2 separate regions of the Homo sapiens genome follow, and region 1 is linked to region 2. Evidence: promoter capture Hi-C in human tissues and cell types (Jung and others, 2019). All regions are on one chromosome and are shown on one strand. The core of a region is centred on a gene start or on the middle of the fragment in contact, and the rest is flanking DNA. Distances in the headings are between cores, read along the strand shown.

What was found. Contacts are between HindIII fragments. The study calls those that stand out against the background at their distance.
Region 1: a contact is called between a fragment that was not itself captured here and the fragment with the promoter of DYNLRB2 in region 2, in 1 of the 25 tissues and cell types used here (dorsolateral prefrontal cortex).

Annotation. Positions count from the first base shown.
Region 1 is chr16:80,930,917-80,936,073 of GRCh38, forward strand. No RefSeq gene overlaps it. Among named protein-coding and RNA genes, the nearest start is that of ARLNC1, 41 kb to the left of the region's middle. The HindIII fragment of the contact is 5,223 bases long and covers 147-5,157 here.
Region 2 is chr16:80,538,668-80,544,215 of GRCh38, forward strand. It overlaps DYNLRB2 (dynein light chain roadblock-type 2), which reads left to right and starts at 2,326. Exons shown (of 4, transcript NM_130897.3): 1 at 2,326-2,412; 2 at 4,609-4,684. The coding sequence starts at 2,410. All of the region lies in intron 1 of DYNLRB2-AS1 (DYNLRB2 antisense RNA 1), which reads right to left. RefSeq lists an enhancer at 2,377-2,466. The HindIII fragment of the contact is 10,411 bases long and covers 1-4,273 here.

The sequences.
Region 1 (5,157 bases), core at 1,508-4,007, 390 kb after region 2:
GGTACTTGGATCACCGTGTTGAAGTTGGTGCCTAGGTTTTTTAGGCAAGATTCCAAGTCATGTTCAATTATTTATTCATTCAGTAAGTACCTGTAAGTGTCAACGATGTTACAGGCACTGTTCTAAGTACTAGGGGTACAGACCGGGCACAGTGGTTCACTCCGTAATCCCAGCACTTTGGGAAGCCGAGGCAGTCGGATCACCTGAGGTCAGGAGTTAGAGACCAGCCTGGGCAACATGATGAAACCCTGACTCTACTAAAAATATCAAAAAATTAGCCGGGCGTGGCCAGGCGCGGTGGCTCACGCCTGTAATCCCAGCACTTTGAGAGGCCAAGGTGAGCGGATCACCTGAGGTCAGGAGTTTGAGACCAGCCTGATCAACATGGAGAAACCCCATCTCTACTAAAAATTCAAAATTAGCTGAGCGTGGTGGCGCATGCCTGTAATCCCAGCTACTAGGGAGACTGAGGCAGGAGAATCGCTTGAACCCGGGAGGCGGAGGTTGCAGTGGGCCGAGACGGCGCCACTGCACTCCACCCTGGACGACAGAAAAAGACTTCATCGCCAAAAGAAATAATAATAAAATAATTAAAATAAAATAAAATTCAACAATTCTTTCCACTTCACTATACTGTAGTTTTTTTTGTATTGAATTCAAACAAAATTAAATTAATATGAATACTTTTAATGAAAAAGCATCTATTTGTGGTCTCATTTTTATAAAATATTTATATCCTTTAACTCTATGTATACATAAAAATATATCTGAGTAGCGTGCATCCCGTGTTAACTAAAGCTATTTCTCAGTAGTGGGATTTTTCTCTTTTTTTTCCACATGTAAACTTTTCTACGTCCTTTGATTTCTTTGAAACAAGCACGGTATCTCTTTAAAAAGACAACAGATTGGTTGTATTATTAACTACTGCTACCAGAAGTGAATGGGCCAAGATGTTAAGAGGAGAGGAAAGGAGAAGAAGGAGGGGAGGGTGTCAGACCGACGGAGTTGGGGGGAGCAGGAGGCGAGAAAGGGGAGAGGAGCGAGAGAGAGAAGAGGGGGGCTCAAATGACGGAGAGAGCGAAAGAGAGGGCAGGAGGCGAGTAGGAGATGAGCCAGAGGAGAGGAGGACACTGCAGACCCGGGGGGAGGGCAAGGGCGCCGACCGCAGGCCGGGGAGGCTGCAGGAGACTGGGGGCCAGGGGAGCGGGGGAGTCGGCAGCGCCGCCTGGGACAGAGCTTGCCGCACGCTGACCTACTTTCTGGGGCCGATGTGTTTGCAGCCAGAGGTACCGCGGAGCCAAGCCCGGAGCCTCGGGGAGCCGCCAGCGAGCGCAGACTGGGAGGGAGCCGGCCGGGCTCCCCGCCACCCCTTCCTCCGCGCGCCAAGACCTGTCAGTTTCACCCAGCCCGGCTTCCCTGGAAAGGCGGGATCCCTCTGCAGATTTCCAGGCTCTTGGAAGAGGACCGGCGCGTCTATTAAACCCGAGTCGCTCCACGGGCTCTCCGCCCAGAGCACAAGCTGCCTTCCCCCGGGAACTGGACCTCGGCAGCGGCCTGCGCAGAGCCGGGCTCCGGGGCCCTGGCCGCTCTCGGGAAGGCCCCGCGGGTTCCCACCAGGCCAGAGGGAGAACCACCAGGAGGCCGCGCGCGCGCACACGCCGGGCGCCCTCCTCGTGCCGAGGTGGAAAGAGCCTGCGACAGGCAGGCCCAGGTTGTCATTTAGGCTCCGCCACTTTCCGCTCGTGTCCTTGGGCAAGTTACTTGACGCTTCCGAGCCCTATTTTTTTTCTCATTTTTAAGATGGAGAAAATGCCATCCACATCTCAGGGTCAAGGTGAGGATTATAAATAAAATAACGTGTGTGAAAGTGCCTGGCATAGCAGCCGGCACGTGGTGTGTGCTCAATAAAAATGTTAGTTCATCCACTCGGGAGGAAGCTGCTTTGCCGGCGCGTCATGACGGATCCAGGAGCCGGCCAACCGTGCTCTATGATCGTGACCGGGCTATGGCCATCGGTGAACGCTGGTCATAAGCGATTTGTGTCATCGTAGTGCCTGACGCCGGGAGACAAGCTTGGGGAAATGCCTTTTTTCTGAAACATTTCCTATGAAATAGTTTGGCCCCACGCCCACTAACTAAAGAATGAGGCTGGCAGGGCGTGGTGGCTCATGCCTGTAGTCCCAACACTTTGGGAGGCCGAGGCGGGCAGATCAGCTGAGGTCGAGAGTTCTAGAACAGCCTGACCAACATGGAGAAACCCCGTCTCTACTAAAAATACAAAATTAGCCGGGCGTGATGGCGCATGCCTGTAATCCCAACTACTTACTCTTGAGGCTGAGGCTGACGCAGGAGAATCGCTTGAACCCGGGAGGCGGAGGTTGCCGTGAACCAAGATTGTGCCATTGCACTCCAGCATGGGCAACAAGAGTGAAACTCCGTCTCAAAAATTAATTAATTAATTTAATAAAAATAAAAAGAAGGACGCTGTGGATTACTGGTGTAAATAAAAGTAATAAACACTTCAAAAGCGATTGCTATGATACAAACAGAGAGTGCCAGAGCTTTAGGTGAAATCACTCATGCAGCCTCTGGGCAGTGCTAGGGGCAGGTGCACTCACCATGCGGACAACTGAGGCTGAAATAAACGGTAAAGTAACAAGTGGATATTTGTCATTTTGGTGTCACTTGACACGTACTTCCTCTTCATAGGGTGAATATATTTATTTCTTCTGGAGAAATTCCTTGTCCCCACTGTGCCATCTTAGGTAGCTGAAAATCAGAGTTTCTTGCTCTCCCTGAGTCAAGAGTGGGCCCATGATCCCACAGGCCAAAGGGACCTTCTCTTCCTCAGGACTTGGAATCTTGAGGGGAACATGCAAGGACAGAATAAAACAATAACAATAATAATAACAATCATGGGGCATTTTCTTGCTAGTGGTGACACCCTGTCTAGGGTATCATTGCTTGCACACCACCACCCACAGCCTACAAGCCTCATGGGCCCCTCCAGACCCACCACCTCCAGACTCAGGAACCCAGATGAGGTCAGGACAGCTTCCATTTAATGTTCCAAGGGCACTAACATGTGAACTGTCATCTTCCCCTCAGCTCCAAACCTGCGCCTCTCCCAGCTAGTGCAGGCCACCACCGTTCATCCAGTTTCCCAGTGGAGAAAGCTGGGAATCATCCTAGACCCTTCTTTCCTCATCCCCATCCATCTGGTCCCCAGGTCTGTCCATTTTACCCCCTAAAGAGCTCGCAAGTCCATTCCTTCTTCACCTGCCTCAGGTCAACGCATCCCTTTTCTCCTGGAAGGTGGCACTAGCTTCTCAGATGCCTCCTGCCTCTAGGGCTTTCCCCTCCAAACCCATCTTCCACATTGTAGTCAGGGTGATCTTTCTAAATGCCTACCTAGTTATGGCAGGGGCTTAAAACTCTTTAGTACCCTGCCAATTGCCCCTGAATGAAGTCCAGACTCCACATCATGATAACAAGCTTTGCATTCCTTTCCACTCTGCCCCCATTCTTTGCATCTCCCAGCACTCCTACGCAAGCACCCTCCTCTAGCTACGTGAAATCTTTCACTGTTTCCTAGACACTCCTTGCCTTTTTTGCTCCTCTAAGCCTTTGCACTTGCTATTTCCTCCACTTAGAAGGACGCTTACCCTCACCTCTACCTAGAAAACTCCTCCTCATGCTTCAAGAATGAGCTCAAATATCCCCCGTTGAGAGAAGCATCATCTGACTCCCACAGGCAAAATGTAGCAGTCCTTTTGAGTTCCCTACTATACCTGCTCCCCATCCCTGCCGCAGCACAGACTTTACTGCACTGCCTTTACCCAATGACTTATGTCTCCATCTGTCCCCTCCACCCACTACACCAACTCCAGCAGAGTAAGAACTCATTCAGTGATCACTAAGGAAGAATGGCTAAGTACATTCTGGTTGGAGATGGGGAAAGGAGATGGTCTTAGGTTTGCTTTTCCCCAAGCAGATCATGGGAAACTGGTTTGAAATGAACTTCTTCACATTTCTGAGAGTGAATAAGGTATAAGCCTGGAACTGCTAGGTGCAGGTTTGGAGCTGAGGGGAAGATGACAGTTCATCTGTTAGTGCCCTTGGAACATTAAATGGAAGCTGTCCTGCTTCCTGTCCCCATGAGGAAAACACTGCCTGAGAATGGAGCCAAAACAAAGGAAGACGGTGTTAGGAGCTTGAGTGAGAACAAGTTCTGATGGCATCTGAGCCCACAGAGGTGGCTGTTCCTGAAGTCAGTCATGACTCTTGAACTTTTTAGTTGTAAGCCATTCCCTGTTTTTGCCTAAGCCATTTTGTTTTTGTTTTGTTCTGTTTTGTATGGGGTTTTTTTGGTGTTTTGTTTTTTGAGACGGAGTCTCACCGTGTTGCCCAGGCTGGAGTGCAATGGCGCATCTCGGTTCACTGCAACCTCCGCCTCCTGGGTTCAAGCAATTCTCCTGCCTCAGCCTCCCGAGCAGCTGGAATTACAGGCACCCGCCACCACGCCCAGCCAATTTTTATATTTTTGGTAGAGACTGGGTTTCACCATGTTGCCCAGGCTGGTCTCGAACTCCTGACCTTAGGTGATCTGCCCAACTCGGCCTCCCAAAGTGCTGGGATTACAGGCGTGAGCCACCACACCAGGCTCTGCCTATGCCATTTTGAATGCAGACTTTCCATCTATTGCGAGCAAGAGAATCTTCATGCTGCTAAAGCATGTTGAAATAAGAATATCCTTTTGAGAGAAAAACTTTAAAACTCATATGTCCTGAATCAAAATAGAAGTATGAGATCAACTTGAGGCAGAATAGCCCTTTGGAAGGCAAGACTGGATTGCAAAGACTTATTGAGAGCATATCTCATGCCAAGACTCTAAGTTACCTGACATAGAATGTGTCCAACAGAAGAAAGGCTGGTCAGACATGAGTGCCTGCACAAAAGAGGGTCATGGAGAAAGAGTTGGCAAGGCCCACGAAAGCACCAGCCAGGTTAACTGTTAAGTGAACACAGGTATAGAGTCTCCACCTGGCGCCCCAGGGCTGGCTTCCTGGAGCTTTATGAACCTCCTAAAATTGTATGTGTAATTAATTCTGCATTTTTTTTTTGAGATGAAGTCTTGCTCTGTCACCCAGGCTGGAG
Region 2 (5,548 bases), core at 1,076-3,575:
TAAGTCAGAGTACTTGCAAAAACTATTATTCACTAATATTTTCACTTACGTTCAAAGTTATTTAGCACTTATTGTGAGTCAAAAAGAAAGGCCGAGGGGATGGGAGAAAGAGGAGAGGGTAAAAGGGGAATTCACATATATTGGGGATGGAGTAGGAAACATGTAAGACATTGCAAAGACACTTTATATAGCACAGCTCTGGATATTCATTACAGGTCCAAAAAAGGCATGAAAATTAAACCGAGCTACCTCCAAGGAATAATTAGAAGTGAAAAATTGATAAAGGGGAAATGGCTCAAGTTCTCCTCATTGATTTTCTGTGCACAGAGTCAAACTTGACTGTTGGTTGGAAGTCAGTTTGGCTACTTCTTATTTCTTTTTCAGCAGTTGGGTTCTCCCGTCAGTGCGTTTTATGCTAGAATCGTTCTTTGCTCTAATTACAGCTGTCAGCTATTGAATGAGCTTGACATCCTGACTCCAGAAACAAGGAAATTCACACTCCATGCATATGCAGTTGGTTCCTTCATTAAAGCTGATTGACATATCAGACATGGTGCACTGTCACTGATTTTTGTAAGAAAAACAAACGGCTACACAATCAAGTGGAATCTCCTTGATCAGAAACACCCAGAGAACCCAAGAATCACTCTTCATTCAACTCAGCCAGTATTTCTGTAAAGACCTATTATTTGTATTACTGCAAAATGGTAGCTATAGTCAATCAGGTAAGAGCCAGATCTGTACACACATGCATGCATACACACACAAGCACACAAATGCACACGCACACGCACACACCAGACTCAGACTCCTTCCCCACAGCTATAGCAGTCCTTTCCAAAGCAACTTTGTTGGAGTACCAGGTGTTGAGAGTCAAGCGGGATTCTTTGGCTAGTAATAGTGAACTGGCTGAGATATACAGATTTCTTGGAGGGAAAAAAAGGAGAGAACTACAGTGATCAGAATCACCCACACCTCAACAAAAATTAGAGCAGAACTACAGTTTCTCAGAGTATTTCTGTAGTTAATATAATAAAATGACAGATGTGGAGTTGAAATGGATCATCGAGTCCAAGCCTGCCAATGAGTTCAAAACTGTCCCAGAGCACCCCTAACATGGACCATTCAGAATCCAGTTGACATTCCTAGCACGATGTATGCCTTGTTCAGTGTGAGACTACTTTCTGGAAATGGATGCACAAACAGAATCGGTATTACAGGAAGTTGTTATGGCATGATCCCTATGAAGATGCATTCCCAACTTACAGCTTGTATTTTGTAATCAATATTTGTCCTCCTCTAACCTCAGGAAGTCATAACACGACTCCAGCCATAAAATTTTCCTGCTGTGCTTCGTCGTACAATAGTGGCTCTTTTCCTCCTAGGCTATAAGGATATTATCAATGTCCCTCAAAAGGTCAAGTGACTTCTGATCATTCCTAACTGATCTTTAACGTGTTTCCTCCAACAGTTCCTTAAACACCCAATGGAATGCTCTTCTATGGCAACGTATAGAACCTCCGGAACTACCATTTGCAATTTTTTAGTAACTCAGAACTGTTGATTTTTAAAATGGCAAAAATACAGATCCTAATGGATACTGACAACTAACAGAAATACTGACAAGTAGCAACTCTTCAATGGAGTTGAGAACAGGAAGAGGGTGCTATAACTAGGTGAGAACATAAAATGTGCAACTGTGCTTACTCTACTGATCTTAGAGTAGACAGATAGAAAGTAATTTTTTTAAGTACATAAGGTTGTACTATTTGATGCTCTGATATATTTTTCTTCAATATAAAAACTACTGGGAGGCGAGCGAACAGTATCTGCCCTGAACAGGGCAGTACTAATGGACGGTCACAGGCAGCTAAGACTATCACCAAACCCCTAGAGCAGCCCAACCCCGAAGTCAGATGGTCCTGTCCCCTCCTTACTTGCTCCAGGGCAAGTATCACACGTGGACATTACTGCTTCCGGTACTGTTTCGTGCATTTTGTTTGGTGCATTTTGTCCGTCTCCCTGGCACCTGGTGGGTGGTGAATCAGCAGTTTTTGAACGAATAAGTGGTTATCACATTAATTCGTGCCTCAATGAATGAATGAATGGACAAACACAGGCCGGGAGCCTGACCCACTTCCCTCTTCCCTCCCGGGACCCACTGCTCCAGGATTGGGCGAACCTCAGGTGAGCGCCTGCTCCCCTCTTCCGCGAACCTTCGCCTACGGCGGCCGGGAGGCATCAGGAGCGCGGTCAGGGCGAAAAAGCCGACTCGCGAGCGCGCAGGCGCAGCCCTGACGCTTCCGTGGGGCCACTTCCTTTTTTGTCTCCTAGCAACGGCGGGTAGCGTTGTTGACATCCCGGGAGGCTGTGCCGCCGGCCTGAGCCCAGAGTTTCGCGGCCTCCGCGATGGTAAATCTGGGGTCTCCGTCCACGCCCCGCCGTTCCAAGCACGCCGACCGTCAAGGACCTTCGCACCCAGCTTCTGGGGCCCACCCAGGCACGGGCGGTCCAGGGGCCGCGGCGGAGGCTGGTGGCTCCAGGATCTTCCTGGAGGGGCGAGAGGGAGACCTTGGAAAGGGGCAAGAAGATGTCTAGATGACTGGAAGCTGTTTTGGGAATTGATTTCGCGGGGATGGTACATAAGGAGGGGTGATGTTGAGAAAGGGAAGAGAGAGATTCAGAGGATGAAGAATGCTCAGGGGAGTGAGAAATCCGGGGAGCCAGGAAAGTTTCCAAAGAGGGGGCGGGAGGCCGAGATGGAGAGGAAAAAAAATCAGACCCTTAGAGAGAAGGAAGAGGTGGGACAGGGAAAGCAAGGGAATGGAAGGGTGAGAAGGGAAGATACTGAGAAAGAAGAAAGGGAAATAAAGAAAAAGGAAAGAAGTGATGGGAGACCCGCCCCCCTCCCCCCCAGAAAAAGAGGTAAGAAAAAAAAAAGTAGAGACTGTGGAAAGCAAAGGGCGTTAAGAGAAGAATGAAACGGGGATTGGAGATGGGGATTAAGAAATTATACTAGGAGCACTTACAAATCATGAGAAGAGAAACAACTGGGTGGAGAAATGGAAAGGCCAGGGAAAGAAAAGAAAGGAGTTTGGGAGATAAGTAAAGGGAGAAAGATAAATAAGGACACAGTGGCTGTAAGAAGCTGTGGACATCGTCTTAAAGATTGCCCAAAATGCAGTGAATTATTGATCCCCTGTTCAACGCTTACGGTTTAGTGTAGTGTTTCTCAAAGTCAGATGCAAACATTCGTTGCTACATAAGATGGCCGAGAAATGCTAAATAAGAGTGAATCACATCGTGAGAAAGTTATTCCTCTTCCATTTTGTTCAACCTTCAGACTACATACAGGAGAAAATTTCTGTTGCTATTAGGTCCTTAATACCACTGTCATTTGGAAATTTCCATTTTTTCATCCGAAGAGCAGGCCTCAGGCTCAGAGCTTTCATTGCAGTAGAATTTAATGATAGGCTCTCTCTTCATTTTGTTCATTTTGTTTGTTTTACAGTTATTTCTATTTATGAGGAATAACGTCAGGTTTCCATTTGTGGTAGTGACATACGATTTCCTCTTAAAATGCATTTATTTAAGCTTTTAGCAGTGAGATAATTTAAAGAACACCTAGATAAATAGTATACATGGCATTCATAATGGCAAGAATCATGAATCTAGTACACAAATGCCTAAAGTCAAGAAAACCTTGGCTCTGATGCTGAAATAGAGAAAATAAGTGCTCCTGCCCATACCAAGTACAAAGGAAAACTATCTTGAAGTAACAAAATGTTCACCTGTGCAATACTGAGGAAAAAAGAATATAGCAAACCCTCATCAAGAGAATTTGCAGAATTCAAAATATCCAGTGATTGCTCAGTCATGAAAAATTTGCAGGTTTGGAAAAGATCGTTCTTGTCTTTGAGTTTTCTACAGGGGAAGAAAACATACAATACACTCTACACATAAGATTCCGAATGAGTTTAAAACACAATAATAGATTCCAGAATAATCACTCATAGTTGAACATTCAGCTTGCACTGAGACGCAAGCTATAGTTATCAAGAAAATCCTAGAATCCTGGAATACTTTGTTTTTATAGACTATCCTTTAAATTTAATCATCCGAACTGATTAGGTCACATTAATGAAAATAAGATTTCTCAATAAGGACTACTTTTAGACAGAGGGAGGCCATGATATAGCTCTATAAATATTTAAAGCACTGTAATGTAGAAAAGGAATTTTCATTTGAATACAGCAGGGTCAATGAATGAAAGATAATCTGGGACAAATTTCCATGCAATGTAAAGAATACTTTTCTAGTAAATGGAAACAGATAAAAATGGAGTGAACTCCTGTGAGGCAGTAAGCTCTCTGTCTCTACAAGGGTTCAAGCCAAGAGATTCATCAGGATTGTATCCAGGAGGTCTTACGTAGGTATTTATGTGGGACTTGACAATTTCTAAGCTGTCTTTTAAAAATCTGAGATTATCACACCTGGCACCTTAGGTTAAGGAGATAGGAGAGTAGGTATCTTGCTAAACATTATTCTCCTTAGGGTTGAAGTTACCACAGGGCCCTTTTGGTTAATTATCTTCCTGGTCTCTTTCAGGCAGAGGTGGAGGAAACCTTAAAGAGGATCCAGAGTCATAAAGGGGTTATTGGAACTATGGTTGTAAATGCAGAAGGTAAATATATCACAGGCTGTCTTCTTGACACACAGAAGCCAACCAGGAACCTGTTTGCCGTGTTAGTCCTTAAGACAAACATCTTCGAATTTGACATCAAAAATATATTTATATATTTTAGCTCTGGCATTCACTTACCAAACATCTATTGAGTATCTGTTATATGCCAAACACTCTGCTAAGATCTGGGGGCATAAATATGAATAAGACATGTCTAAAAATCTCTATATACTCCTAAGAAGCACTATACATTGTTTACTTTTTAAAGCTTTGGTAATTCTCTTCCAACATTTCAGAAGTGCCAATAAAACTATCATATAGAAGATAGGGAGAATATCATTGTTGGTGGGTTGTTTGCGTTTCAACATTATGAACCATACAGAATTTCAGTGTTTATTTTAAATGGAACTTGTTCCTTGAACATATTTTATTTAAAAATCTTTGAGAATTAACGATATCATTTATAATATAGTCTTTGTGGATATAGCATAAGAAGGCCCTACATATTTCCAACTATGAAATCTGTAGACTTACCAGAAACTTGCTCTTGCTGCACGATCCTTGTTAAGAATCCACATCACATTTACTTTGGCACATTGCTCCACGCTCAGCTATGGTGGCAACCTCTTAAGAGTTCATGCTAGTTTCATTGCTAATTCAGACATTTGTAAGGGCAAGGAGTGCCAGAAATTCCAGAGCATTAGTTAAAATAAGAGTAGCTACTTTACATAATTTGTGGTGCAACCATGGAATTGGCCTATTACCAACTCAGTGCCTTGGAAAAATCCATCAGTAAATATTTATTAAGCAACTACCAACTGAAAGTCTGCTTAAATTCTGAACTACAACTCCTTACCACTAAGA